2 separate regions of the Homo sapiens genome follow, and region 1 is linked to region 2. Evidence: promoter capture Hi-C in 16 types of primary human blood cells and fetal thymus (Javierre and others, 2016). All regions are on one chromosome and are shown on one strand. The core of a region is centred on a gene start or on the middle of the fragment in contact, and the rest is flanking DNA. Distances in the headings are between cores, read along the strand shown. Region 1 overlaps CASC11 (cancer susceptibility 11). Region 2 holds the start of POU5F1B (POU class 5 homeobox 1B).

What was found. The method cuts DNA at HindIII sites, captures the fragments that hold promoters and counts their contacts. A CHiCAGO score of 5 or more calls a contact.
Region 1: a fragment that was not itself captured here is called in contact with the fragment with the promoter of POU5F1B in region 2 in 1 of 17 cell types (M2 macrophages); the score reaches 5.9 in M2 macrophages.

The regions. Positions count from the first base shown.
Region 1 is chr8:127,715,924-127,722,116 of GRCh38, forward strand. It overlaps CASC11 (cancer susceptibility 11), which reads right to left. Exons shown (of 4, transcript NR_117102.1): 2 at 24-245. Among named protein-coding and RNA genes, the nearest start is that of CASC11, 15 kb to the right of the region's middle. The HindIII fragment of the contact is 1,703 bases long and covers 1,049-2,751 here.
Region 2 is chr8:127,411,128-127,417,326 of GRCh38, forward strand. POU5F1B (POU class 5 homeobox 1B) reads left to right here and starts at 4,740. Exons shown (of 1, transcript NM_001159542.3): 1 at 4,740-5,819. The coding sequence starts at 4,740. The coding sequence ends at 5,819. All of the region lies in intron 5 of CASC8 (cancer susceptibility 8), which reads right to left. The HindIII fragment of the contact is 3,513 bases long and covers 1,335-4,847 here.

The DNA of each region.
Region 1 (6,193 bases), core at 650-3,149, 300 kb after region 2:
ACATAGGCCGCCTTGGCTCATACCTGTAATCCCAGCATTTTGGCAGGCTGAGGCGGGCAGATTGCTTGAGTCCAGGAGTTCGAGATTAGCCGGGGCAATATAGTGAGACCCTGTCTCTTCACATCCCTGTGGTCTCAGCTACTCAGAAGGCTGAGGTAGGAGGATTGCTTGAGCCTGGCAAGTTCAAGACTGCAGTGAGTCGTGATCACACCACTGCACTCCAACCTGGGTGAGAGTGAGAGATCCTGTCTCAAAAGAAATAAAAATGAAAGACACATAATTCACAATCCATGTCAAGAAGACCTTGCTTACTCTGTTTTCTCAGTGGACTTTGTGGCCATTCTCTTTCTCCTGAGCTATCTGTATCATAGGTAAGTTATACAGTCCTATCCCTCCAAACTTACCTTTAAACACATTTCATGATAAGAGGGTTTTGCACCTAAAACCTTTACCCTCAGAAGTTTATCTTATCCATTAGTGGGTCATCCAAGACATTTCCACCAACCCAATAACGCACAAGTAAAGCTAAGTGAACATTTGTTGAAAAAAAATTACTAAATATTAAGTTTACATTGATTGAACACATAATATGCGCCAAGTACTATAAGCGCATTATATGCATTATCTTAATTATTCCTCCCAAGAATTCCATGAGGTATTTATTATCCCCATTTTAAAGATAAGAAGATGAAGGCTGAGAGAGTTTGAGTAGTACAGATTTATGGAGTAGGGACAACAGCATTGGAACTTGATGTCCTCTCTTCTCTAACCACGACACTGCCTAGTTCAGAAATTACCAATCTGAGGAAGAACAAGTGAATGGACAGTTAACAGGAATGTCCTATTGATTTCTTCAGGCTCTTGCTCTCAAATGGATAAATGAGGGTCTCCTGACCTTCCCTGCCATCCATCTCTTCCGCTTACTTCAACTGCTTGATTTAATTGATATCTTTCAGGAAGCCAAGGTTGGCTAATATCAACTTCAATAAAAATTTAGCTTTAGAGATGAACCAAAATGAACCACATTTTCCCAGTGATAACCCACTTAAGCTTGGCTCATGCTCTCCAGTTTCAAAATCTCCATCCTGTCCTCTTCACACTGCCTGAATTTGAATCCCTGTTCCACCATTTACTTTTTTTTTTTTCTTTTTGAGATAGTCTCACTCTGATGCCCAGGCTGGCGTACAGTGGCATGATCTTGGTTCATTGCAACCTCCGCCTCCTGGGCTCAAGCAGTTCTCGTGCCTCAGCCTCCTGAGTACCTGGAACTAAAGGCATGCACCACCACACCCAGCTAATTTTTGTGTTTTTAGTAGAGACTGGCTTTTGACACATTACCCAGGCTGGTCTTGAACTCCTGGCCTCAAGTGATCTGCCCACCTTGGTACCATTTATTCTTGAATCCCAGGCAAGCTAACATTCCCACACTGCAGTTACCTCTTTTGTAAAATGTAAATAAAATGGGCACTGATCTGATTGGGTTGCTGTGGGGACTAAATGATGAATACATGTAAGTGCTTATTGGAGAGTCAAAGGCTGAAAATCTCTCCATCCTTTCAGTATGTCTCTGGGACTGCATTAATGATCTCGCCTGGAGAGGCAGAGGTTGCAGTGAGCCGAGATCGTGCCACTGCACTCCACCCTGGGCAACAAGAGTGAAACTTCATCTTAAAATAATAATAACAATAATCTCACCCAGAGATAATGGCCAATATCTCAAGGCCCTTGATGAGTGAGAGAGTGGACCAAATCACCCTTCTGTTTTCCCCTGTCCATCCCCACCCCAGGTTTCATGTTGAGATTTTACAGAGAAAAAAACATAGTCCACTTGTAAAGTAAACCAAATAAAGGCTGGGAGTGTTGGCTCATGCCTATAATCCCAGCACTTTGGGAGGTCGAGATGGGTGGATCGCTTGAGTCCAGGAGTTCAAGACCAGCCTTGCCAACATGGTGAAACCTCATCTCTACAAAAAACTGCAAAAATTAGCCAGGTGTGGTGGTGTGCACCTGTAGTTCCAGCTACTCAGGAGGCTGAAGTGGGAGGATCACCTGAGCCCAGGAGGTTGAGGCTGCGTTGAGCCGCGATCATGCCACTGCACTTCAGCCAGGTGACAGAGGTGAGGGAGGTCTTGTCTCAAGAAAAAAAATAAAATAAAATAAATCCAATAAAATGTCTGAAAACTCCTAACCTCTCAGTGTTCTCCAAGTCTCCTTTCATTGCAACTGTCAGCATCTTCAGTTCTGTGTCTTCTGCACCAGGAGCCATCTCCACAGCGCTTCCCATCCACCCACAGCACTTTTTATTACACTGCCAGGTGTAGCCATCATCTACAGGGGAGCAGCCCTCTATTCTGATAAGGCATAAAAAATGAGCTGCAGACTGAGAGTCCAGCCATGTGTCCTTCTGCCTTATCTGCAAATCCCATCATCAGCAATTTTCTCGAGCCTGTTCAGGTCACTTCATTCTCTTATCCTCACCTACAAATGCTCCTATTCAGTCTTTCTTGGGCTCCTTTAGGAAAATGCACTAATAATGTACTATCTATTTTTTTTAATTGGAGTATCAGTTAAGATGTGTTTCTGTCATTTGTGCAATTATTAGATGTGCTTCCACTGTAAATCAAAGAAATGCAGACTACAGCAAAGCTGTTTTTAAAATGATAATAAACAGTACTGACATGAGTCTCATTAGTGTAGCACTCTCATATATTCCTGAGGCAGTGCAAATTACAACATCTCCTTTTTTCCTCAAGCTTTAGTAATATGAATCAAGGACTTTACAAATGCCTCTGATTCAATAATTCTGGATTCTATACTAAGAAAAGTATCCTAAAAATTAAGAACAGATTTATTCCCAAAGATGTTCATATCAGTGTTATTTACCATAGCAAATCAATGACACACTTCAAATTTTAAAAAGGAAATGATTAAATGAGGTATTTTATAATCACCTAATAGACTATTTTGCAGCCATTTAACATTTGCTTTCAATGATGCTGACAATTTTTGTAACACAATGTGAAATGGGAAAAAAGGCAGATTCAAAGGAACATTTATAGCATGATTACAAATTTATAAAACAAAAACTTTCATTTAAAAGAAAGATAAGAAAATATAAGGGCACAAAAATAAATGAATGTTATTATGGTAAATCAACAGGGCTGTGAGAAAGAATAAGGGTCCTAATTTAGACAGGAAGGTCAGGAAAGCCTCTCTGAAAATGTAGAAGATAAACAAAAATTAGTCAAGGAAAAAATTAAACAAGGAAATAGCCAGGAAAGGCCAGGTGTGGTGGTTCATGCCTGTAATCCCAGCACTCAGATGGGCAGATCACCTGAGGCCAGGAGTTTGAGACCAGCCTGGCCAACATGGTGAAACCCCATCTCTACTAAAAATACAAAAATAGCTGGGTGTGGTGGTGCATGCCTGTAGTCCCAGCTACTCAGGAGGCTGAGGCAGGAGAATCGCTTGAACCTTGGGAGGTGGAGGTTGCAGTGAGCCAAAATTGTGTCACTGCACTCCAGCCTGGGTGACAAATTGAGACTCCATCTCAAATAATAATAATAATAATATTAAAGCAGAAACAGCCAGAACAAAAATTTAAATGGAAAATTTAAATTAAATTTTTAAATTAACCAAGGAAATAATTAATCAAGGAAAAAAATAGCATGTACAAAGTTTCTGAGTCAGGAAAAACAGGATAAATAGGAATTACTGAGGCACTGACTATTAAGTGCTAACTATACATTGACAGTTGAGTCGGAACTAAAATGTCCTTGCATTGAATAGTATTCATTTTATTTGTTGACAAGAAAGCTTGCAACTAAAAGTCTGAGCCTGGCATGTGATAGGAAAAGGTAGTAACAATAGTACTTATCCCCAAGGCTGTCATGGAGTAAAGCATTGCTAGACCTAAGCACTTACAACAGGCCTGGCAAATGACCAATAAGCACATGGAAAGTTGCTCCATGTTGGCAGGACATGGTGGCTCATGCCTGTAATCCCATCACTTTGGGAGGCTGAGGCAGGGCAGATTGCTTGAGCCCAGGAGTTCAAACCAGCTTGGGCAAGATGGTGAAACACTCTCTATGCAAAAATACAATAATTAGCCATGCATGGTGGCATATGGCTGTAGTCCCAGCTGTCCCAGCTACTCATGAGGCTGGAATAGGAGTATCAATTGAGCTCTCAAGTTCAAGGCTGCAGTGAGCCGTGACTGTGCCACTGCACTCCAACCTGGGTGAACAGAAAAGACTCTGCTTCAAAAGAAACAAAAAAACAAAAAAGAAAGGCAAGTCAAAAAGCACAGTGAGATACCACTTCACGCCCACTGACATGACTATAATGAAAAATAGAGAAAGAAAGATAACAACAAGTATTGACAAGGATGTGGAGAAATTGAAACTTCATATACTGCTGGCATGAATATAAAATGGTGCTGGATGGGCACGGTGGCTCACGCCTCTAATCCCAGCACTTTGGGAGGCCAAGGATCACCTGAGGTCAGGAGTTCAAGACCAGCCTGGCCATGGTGAAACCCTGTCTCTACTAAAAATACAAAAAATAAGCTAGGCGTGGCTGGGCGTGGTGGCTCACACCTGTAATCCCAGCACTTTGGGAGGCCGAGGTGGGTGGATCATGAGATCAGGAGTTCAAGACCAGCCTGGCAAAGATGGTGAAACCCTGTCTCTATTAAAAAATACAAAAATTAGCCTGGTGCGGTAGTGGGCACTTGTAATCCCAGCTACTTAGGAGGCTGAGGCAGGAGAATCGCTTGAACTTGGGAGGCAGAGGTTGCAGTGAGCCGAGATCATGCCACTGCATTCTAGCCTGGGCAACAGAACAAGACTCCTTCTCAAAAAAAAAAAAAAAAATTAGCTAGGTGTGGTGGCAGGCACCTGTAATCCCAGCTACTCGGGAGGCTGAGGCAGGAAAATCACCTGAACCCAGGAGGCAGAGGTTGCAGTGAGCCGAAATTGTGCCATTGCACTCCAGCCTGGGCAACAAGAGGAAAATTCCATCTCAAAAAAAATAAAAATAAAAATAAATAAATAAATAAAATGGTGCAACCACTTTGAAAAACAGTTCAACATTTCCTCATATGGTGAGAATAGAATTACTATATGAAGGCTGGGTGTGGTGGTTCATGCCTGTAATCCCAGCAGTTTGGGAGGCCTAGGTGGGTGGATTGCTTGAGCTCAGGATTCCAAGACCAGCCTGGGCAACATGGTGAAACCCTGCCTCTACCAAAAATACCAAAAATACCAAAAATCAGCTGGACGTGGTGGCATGCACCTGTGGTCCCAGCTACACGGGAGGCTGAGGTGGGAGGACTGCTTGAGCCCAGGAGGCAAAGGTTGCAGTGAGCGGAGATTGTGCCACTGCACTCCAGCCTGGGCAACAGAGGGAGACCCCATCTCAAAAAAAAAAAAAAAGCAAAACTATATGATCCAGCATTTCCATCCATCAATAGATAGATAGACCCAAGATAAAAGAACACATATATTCACACAAACATTTGTACAGAAATGGTCATAGCAGTATTATTCGCAATCCCCAAAAAGTAGAAACAACCCAAATGCCCATCAATGGATGAGTGGATAAATAAAATGTGATATATCCATACAATGAAATATTATTTATCAATAAAAGGAAGTGAAGTACTGATAATACTATACCACGGATGAACTTTGAAGTGATTATGCCACATTAAAGCAGCCAGGACAAATGACCACACATTGTATGATTCCATTAATATGAAATGGCTAAAATAAGCAAACTCATAAAGACAGAAAGTAAGTTGATGTTTGCCAAGGGCTGAATATGTTGTGGGAAATGGGGAGTAACTGCTAATAAGTACAGGGTTTCTTTGGAGGGTGATGAAAACGTTGTAAAATTGATTGTGGCCAGGCACTACAGCTCACACCTACAATCCCAGCTACTCTGGAGGCTGAGGTGCGAGGATGGCTTGAGCCCAGGAGTTCAAGACCAGCCTAGGCAACATAGTGAGACCCTGTCTCTAAAAGGTTTTCTAAAATTAGCCAGGTGCATATGCCTGCAGTTCCAGATTCTCAGAAGCCAGAAGTGGGGAGGATCTCTGGAGTTCAGGAGTTTGGGACCACGGTAAGCTATGATTGTGTTACTGCACACCAGTTTGGGTGACAGAGCGAGACCCCTTCTCTCAAAACAAATA
Region 2 (6,199 bases), core at 3,490-5,989:
TAATGTAAATGGCATCCCATGGAGCAGTGCAATATGCCAGCCCTACCCCCATTTCTTTCCTTTTTAAGTTTTTTCATTAAAGTTCTTTCTCTTCTGGACAAGAAAACCCTATGATAATGGAATCTTCAAACTGAAAGCATCTATAAAATGAACCCCAGATTCCTGGGGCTTTAGACTTTCGTTAACCAAATAAGATGAGGAATTATGGGTGTCTGATGTGCCAGGTACTATTCCAATACTTAAAATATATCATCCCGTATTTCTCACAGTAGAACCATGAAGTAGAGACATTACTGCATTTTCCTATGAGAAAATGGGACTGAGATGGTTAAGGTGGGATAGTATAGGTAGAAACTGTTAGAACAAACATACTCAGTCTTAACTAATTTCTAGATCCATGCTTTGTCCGCTCCTTTGTTATTCCTTGAAGATGTTAGGGGAAATTCATTAGTCCATTGCAATAATGTACAACTCCTGTGGAAATAACTTACACGCCTATGATTAGAACACATAGGTTCAGACATCACAAGGCTTTGATGTGCCTGAAATTCTATCAATTTACGGGGCAATGCTAGTTATCTCTTGGTGATTTGTGCCTCTGTTTGGCAGTAGTCTCTGCCTTAGATCCCTTGGAAAGAGAGAAACTAATTCCTTAAAATTTTGTTTATTTGCCATCCTATCAAAATATGACTACCTAGGGGAAGAATAATTAAGTGGATCATTAATGGTGTATTTACCACATCCTGACTGGAATCATAATTATTTGCTTACCTGGATGTATACCACCCTCAGTTGTCCCGCAGTAAGCTCACCCAGCTTCTCTATGTTAATTTTCAACACCATCTAAGTCTTCTTGGGTAATTTAGTCCACTACAGTAGCTTTACAGATCACACACATGATAGTTATGGCCAAACCTGTATCTCCTTCCTTAATATTTCGTTATAGCATCTAACACATATATCCAGCTGACTCTAAGACTCCCACTCCTAAATGTCCTGCAGCTCCCTCTACCTTAAAATTTCCAAAACTATGTCAATTCTCTTCTCTTCTAATCTTGTTTTTCCTTTTGTGTATTATTTCTCAGTGAATCAGACCACCACCCAAATAACCCAAGAGTCTTCTTTGATTTTTTTCTCTGTCTCAACATCTCCAAACCCCTCTACCCCACCTAGCCACTTCCAGTCTTATCTTTTATGGTGAGAACCAGCTTCATGTAACAGAAACTCTAAAAAAAATCAATGATTTAAATAACTTGGGTATATAAATATCTCTCTCATACTAGAAGATCAGAGGTGGGAAGTCTGAGCATGATATAATGGTCATCAGGGGTCCAAGCTTCTTCATTCTGCCTCACCATCTCGCTTGCAGCTTCTGCCTAATGTTGACTTACAGTTCAAGATGGCTTCTGGAGTGCTACCATTACATCCATGTTGTAGGCTAGAAGGAAAAGGGCAATGGCCTGAAGAGGAAGGGAGAGTTCCTGTTAACTCAGCTTCCTTTAAACAGCCTCCCCAAAAGTTTCACGCTGTATTTTTGCTGATTCTCATTGGTCACAACTTAGTGCCATGGAAGACTAGTAAATATAGTCTTTTAGCTGGATGGCCTGCTATCTTATATAAAATGAGGTTAGGTTACTAAGACAGAAAGGGAGAGCAGATCTTGGGAGGCAGCTAGCTGTTTTTGCCATCCCAAGTGTTGTGATTTCTACCTGCTTTCAATTTAACCTATTTGCCAGTTTCTCTGCATCCAACCATCATGGTTCTAGTTGAGGTCCAACCTCAGAGAAATAGCTACTTAAGTGATACTGGGATACTTTGTACAGAGCAAAGAAACCAGTCTTTATGCCACTTGGAATGGATTTTTCCAATTGTCCTGCCCCCACTGAAAAAAACTCTTCGTTCAGAAGAAATAATGACCAATGACGTAAGAAGGACTAATGTTTCCACCTGCCTCTCAATTTAATAGCAAGAGATTCCACATGTCAGACAGGAAAGAAGGCTAGGAAGGAAAATGAGCATTAAGATTAATAATTGATGTTAATACTGACAACAAAGACAAACAATGGTGATAAATGAAATGGCAGAACCAAGGAAATTGTTCTACTGTGATATCTTTCTTTCAAGCAGGTCAACTGTATAATTACCAAACTCAATTTCATCAGGAATTTCATCAACATCAGAGCCCCTGGGCCACCAGTCTTCAATGTTTGCTACCAGTGTGTTACTGTCTGCTTGTCATTATCTAGAGACAAAAATGGAACATTACAATGGGCTTTATGACCCTTCTGTACCTCAGCATTTCCATCCTGCCCCCTTCACCTAGCTGTACCTCATTATCTATCCCAGTGCCTGGCCTGTGATATCCCTAGAAATTATTATTGCACTAAACTAAATTAAACACAAAGACTTAGTTAGCGGATTCACAATTTTTAGTTGTACTACATAGTCAAACGAGTAGACGTTCAGGTCACAAAATCTAGCCTGTCTCCCCATGAAACCACAATGCCATTGTCTGAACAGATTAAATAAAGCAGAGCATCACCTCAAACGATTTTCATGGTTCAAATCTAGGTAGCTATACTTACCAGCTGTGAGGCTTAGGCCAACCTATTAACCTTCTATTTCACTTTTCTGCTAAATGAGACAATATGGACTTGACTTCATTTTGTGAGAAATAAATAATCTAAGTAACTGGTCAAACACATTTTGTGCTTCTTAAAAAAAGGTGGTACACACACACACACACACACACAACACCCGATATAATACAATATTTTCAAATGACACTAGAAATATTTTAGTCAGGTCTAAAGGAACAGAAGTTAATGATAAAATGATAAACAATAAATAATAGCTACTGTTTCATGAGAAAATTACACACATCTTACTTGACTTAAACCTCACAACAGAATTGAGCAGAAAGTTATTACCCTGAGAAAGGGGACTTAAGGTTGGCAGGATAACAAGTGGGAGAATCTAGAGGTAAAGTCATATCTATCTTATTGGAAACACTCAAGAACGTCAAATAAGCATGAGAATTTGAGCAAGACTGAAGGAGAACGTTTAAGTTCCCTTTCCAACTCATATCCCAATTCTGGAATCTAATTTCTGTAACAAGTAACTATATTCCTTACTACAGAAGTAAAGATGGCCCCATGGAGAAACTGGCAGCATGGCATGATGGAAATGGAATAGAATCAGGAATTGTTTTGTACCTGTGTGTGTGTGACTTTGGTGTTCTGACTCAGACACATATTTGAGAGGTAGAGAGGGGAGAAGAGGGTTGCCACATTATGTAACAGAAAGGAGCCCACTGCTTAAACACTTACCTTGTGCCAGACATTGCACTAGGACTTTATTACCTGCAACCCATCCTGCAAAACTGTGAAGATTTGATATGATCATTCTCATTTTATGGTTGAGAAACAAGGGTTAAGGACATTAAAAATTTACTCAATGTTTAAACATTTGCCTGTCTTATTCTAAAGCCCCTTCTCTTTTCACAATCCCTTTAAGAAATGGACATCCAATATTTGAGTGGCAGAGGCAAAAACATGGCCTACCAGAACCATTATGATAGCTTTACAATATGCCCACCAATTATTTGATAGTCCTCCTGCCAAATGGTGAAGGCTAATTACCCTCCTACAGAATGTGACTCACTTCTAATGAATAAAATATGGCACAAGTAAAAGTGTGCGATTTCAGAGACTAGGTCATAAAGAACGCAGTGGCTTCTTCCCTGCTCTCTCTTTCTTAGGTCATTCTCTCTGGGTGAATCCAGCTGACATGTTGTGAGGACACTCAAGCAGCTTTATGGAAAAGCCCACATGGTGAGCAACTGAGGCCTCCTACCAACAGCCAACAAGAAACCGGGGCCTTTGCCAACAGCCAAGTAAGTGAGACATTTTGGAAAGTGGATCCTCCAGCCCCCGTTAGGCTCCCAGATGACAACATCCCCTGCTCTCATCTTGACCACAACCTCATGAAATACCCTTATCCAGGATACCCAGTTAAGCCACACCACAATTGCTATTTTACAAAACTGTGAGCTATGTGTTAGTTGTTTTTAAGCTATTAAGTTTTGAGGTGATCTATTACACAATGATAAACAACTAATACACCCATCCAGTGCTGAAGAAAGGGGTTGTCAGGAGGGTAGAATTTGCACTATTAAATCTTCATAGAGTGCTATTTCCCGTCACTACAGCACACTTGTCACCAACTATAAAGAATTAGGTCAGGGAATTTCTTTGGTTGCAGCCCATTTTGCCTTTGGTTGTTAATGGTAGAACCGTTTCCCCACAATCTGCAGGAAATAAGAATCAGAAAGAAGGACACACCATTCCATAGCACAGAACACAAGTAGATGGCTCCCATGAAGAATCTAGCATCATGGTATGGCAGAAGCAGAATGGACTCAGGAATCATGGTGCCTACACTGGAATTTCAGATCGGCCACTGACACAATGGACACATTATTCAACATTTCCAAATCTTGGCATTCTTATCCACAAAGTGAAGATAATAATTGTCAATTCACAGGTGATTATGATTTAAAGAGATTACTTTTGAAGAGTTCCTAACACATTCAGTCAACATTTAATGATGCTTCAGGCACTGTGTTCATTGCTAGTGAGCGTATGACACACACAGCCATACGGTCACAGAGCTTTCAATGAAAAGTAACATAATTGCTCATTTCACCAGGCCCCCGGCTTGGGGCGCCTTCCTTCCCCATGGCGGGACACCTGGCTTCGGATTTCGCCTTCTCGCCCCCTCCAGGCGGTGGGGGTGATGGGCCATGGGGGGCGGAGCCGGGCTGGGTTGATCCTCTGACCTGGCTAAGCTTCCAAGGCCCTCCTGGAGGGCCAGGAATCGGGCCGGGGGTTGGGCCAGGCTCTGAGGTGTGGGGGATTCCCCCTTGCCCCCCGCCGTATGAGTTATGTGGGGGGATGGCGTACTGTGGGCCTCAGGTTGGAGTGGGGCTAGTGCCCCAAGGCGGCTTGGAGACCTCTCAGCCTGAGAGCGAAGCAGGAGTCGGGGTGGAGAGCAACTCCAATGGGGCCTCCCCGGAACCCTGCACCGTCCCCCCTGGTGCCGTGAAGCTGGAGAAGGAGAAGCTAGAGCAAAACCCGGAGAAGTCCCAGGACATCAAAGCTCTGCAGAAAGAACTCGAGCAATTTGCCAAGCTCCTGAAGCAGAAGAGGATCACCCTGGGATATACACAGGCCGATGTGGGGCTCATCCTGGGGGTTCTATTTGGGAAGGTGTTCAGCCAAAAGACCATCTGCCGCTTTGAGGCTCTGCAGCTTAGCTTCAAGAACATGTGTAAGCTGCGGCCCTTGCTGCAGAAGTGGGTGGAGGAAGCTGACAACAATGAAAATCTTCAGGAGATATGCAAAGCAGAAACCCTCATGCAGGCCCGAAAGAGAAAGCGAACCAGTATCGAGAACCGAGTGAGAGGCAACCTGGAGAATTTGTTCCTGCAGTGCCCGAAACCCACACTGCAGATCAGCCACATCGCCCAGCAGCTTGGGCTCGAGAAGGATGTGGTCCGAGTGTGGTTCTGTAACCGGCGCCAGAAGGGCAAGCGATCAAGCAGCGACTATGCACAACGAGAGGATTTTGAGGCTGCTGGGTCTCCTTTCTCAGGGGGACCAGTGTCCTTTCCTCCGGCCCCAGGGCCCCATTTTGGTACCCCAGGCTATGGGAGCCCTCACTTCACTGCACTGTACTCCTCAGTCCCTTTCCCTGAGGGGGAAGTCTTTCCCCCAGTCTCCGTCATCACTCTGGGCTCTCCCATGCATTCAAACTGAGGTGCCTGCCCTTCTAGGAATGGGGAACAGGGGAGGGGAGGAGCTAGGGAAAGAGAACCTGGAGTTTGTGGCAGGGCTTTTGGGATTAAGTTCTTCATTCACTAAGGAAGGAATTGGGAACACTAAGGGTGGGGGCAGGGGAGTTTGGGGCAACTGGTTGGAGGGAAGGTGAAGTTCAATGATGCTCTTGATTTTAATCCCACATCATGTATCACTTTTTTCTTAAATAAAGAAGCCTGGGACACAGTAAAAAAAAAAAAAAAAGAAAGAAAAGAAAAGTAACATAATTGAGTAATAATTTTTTAAGTGTGGTAAAATGTGTGGCACGTAGTAGGTATTCAATAAATACTTGCTTTTTTCCTCCTTTTTACCTTTTCCTA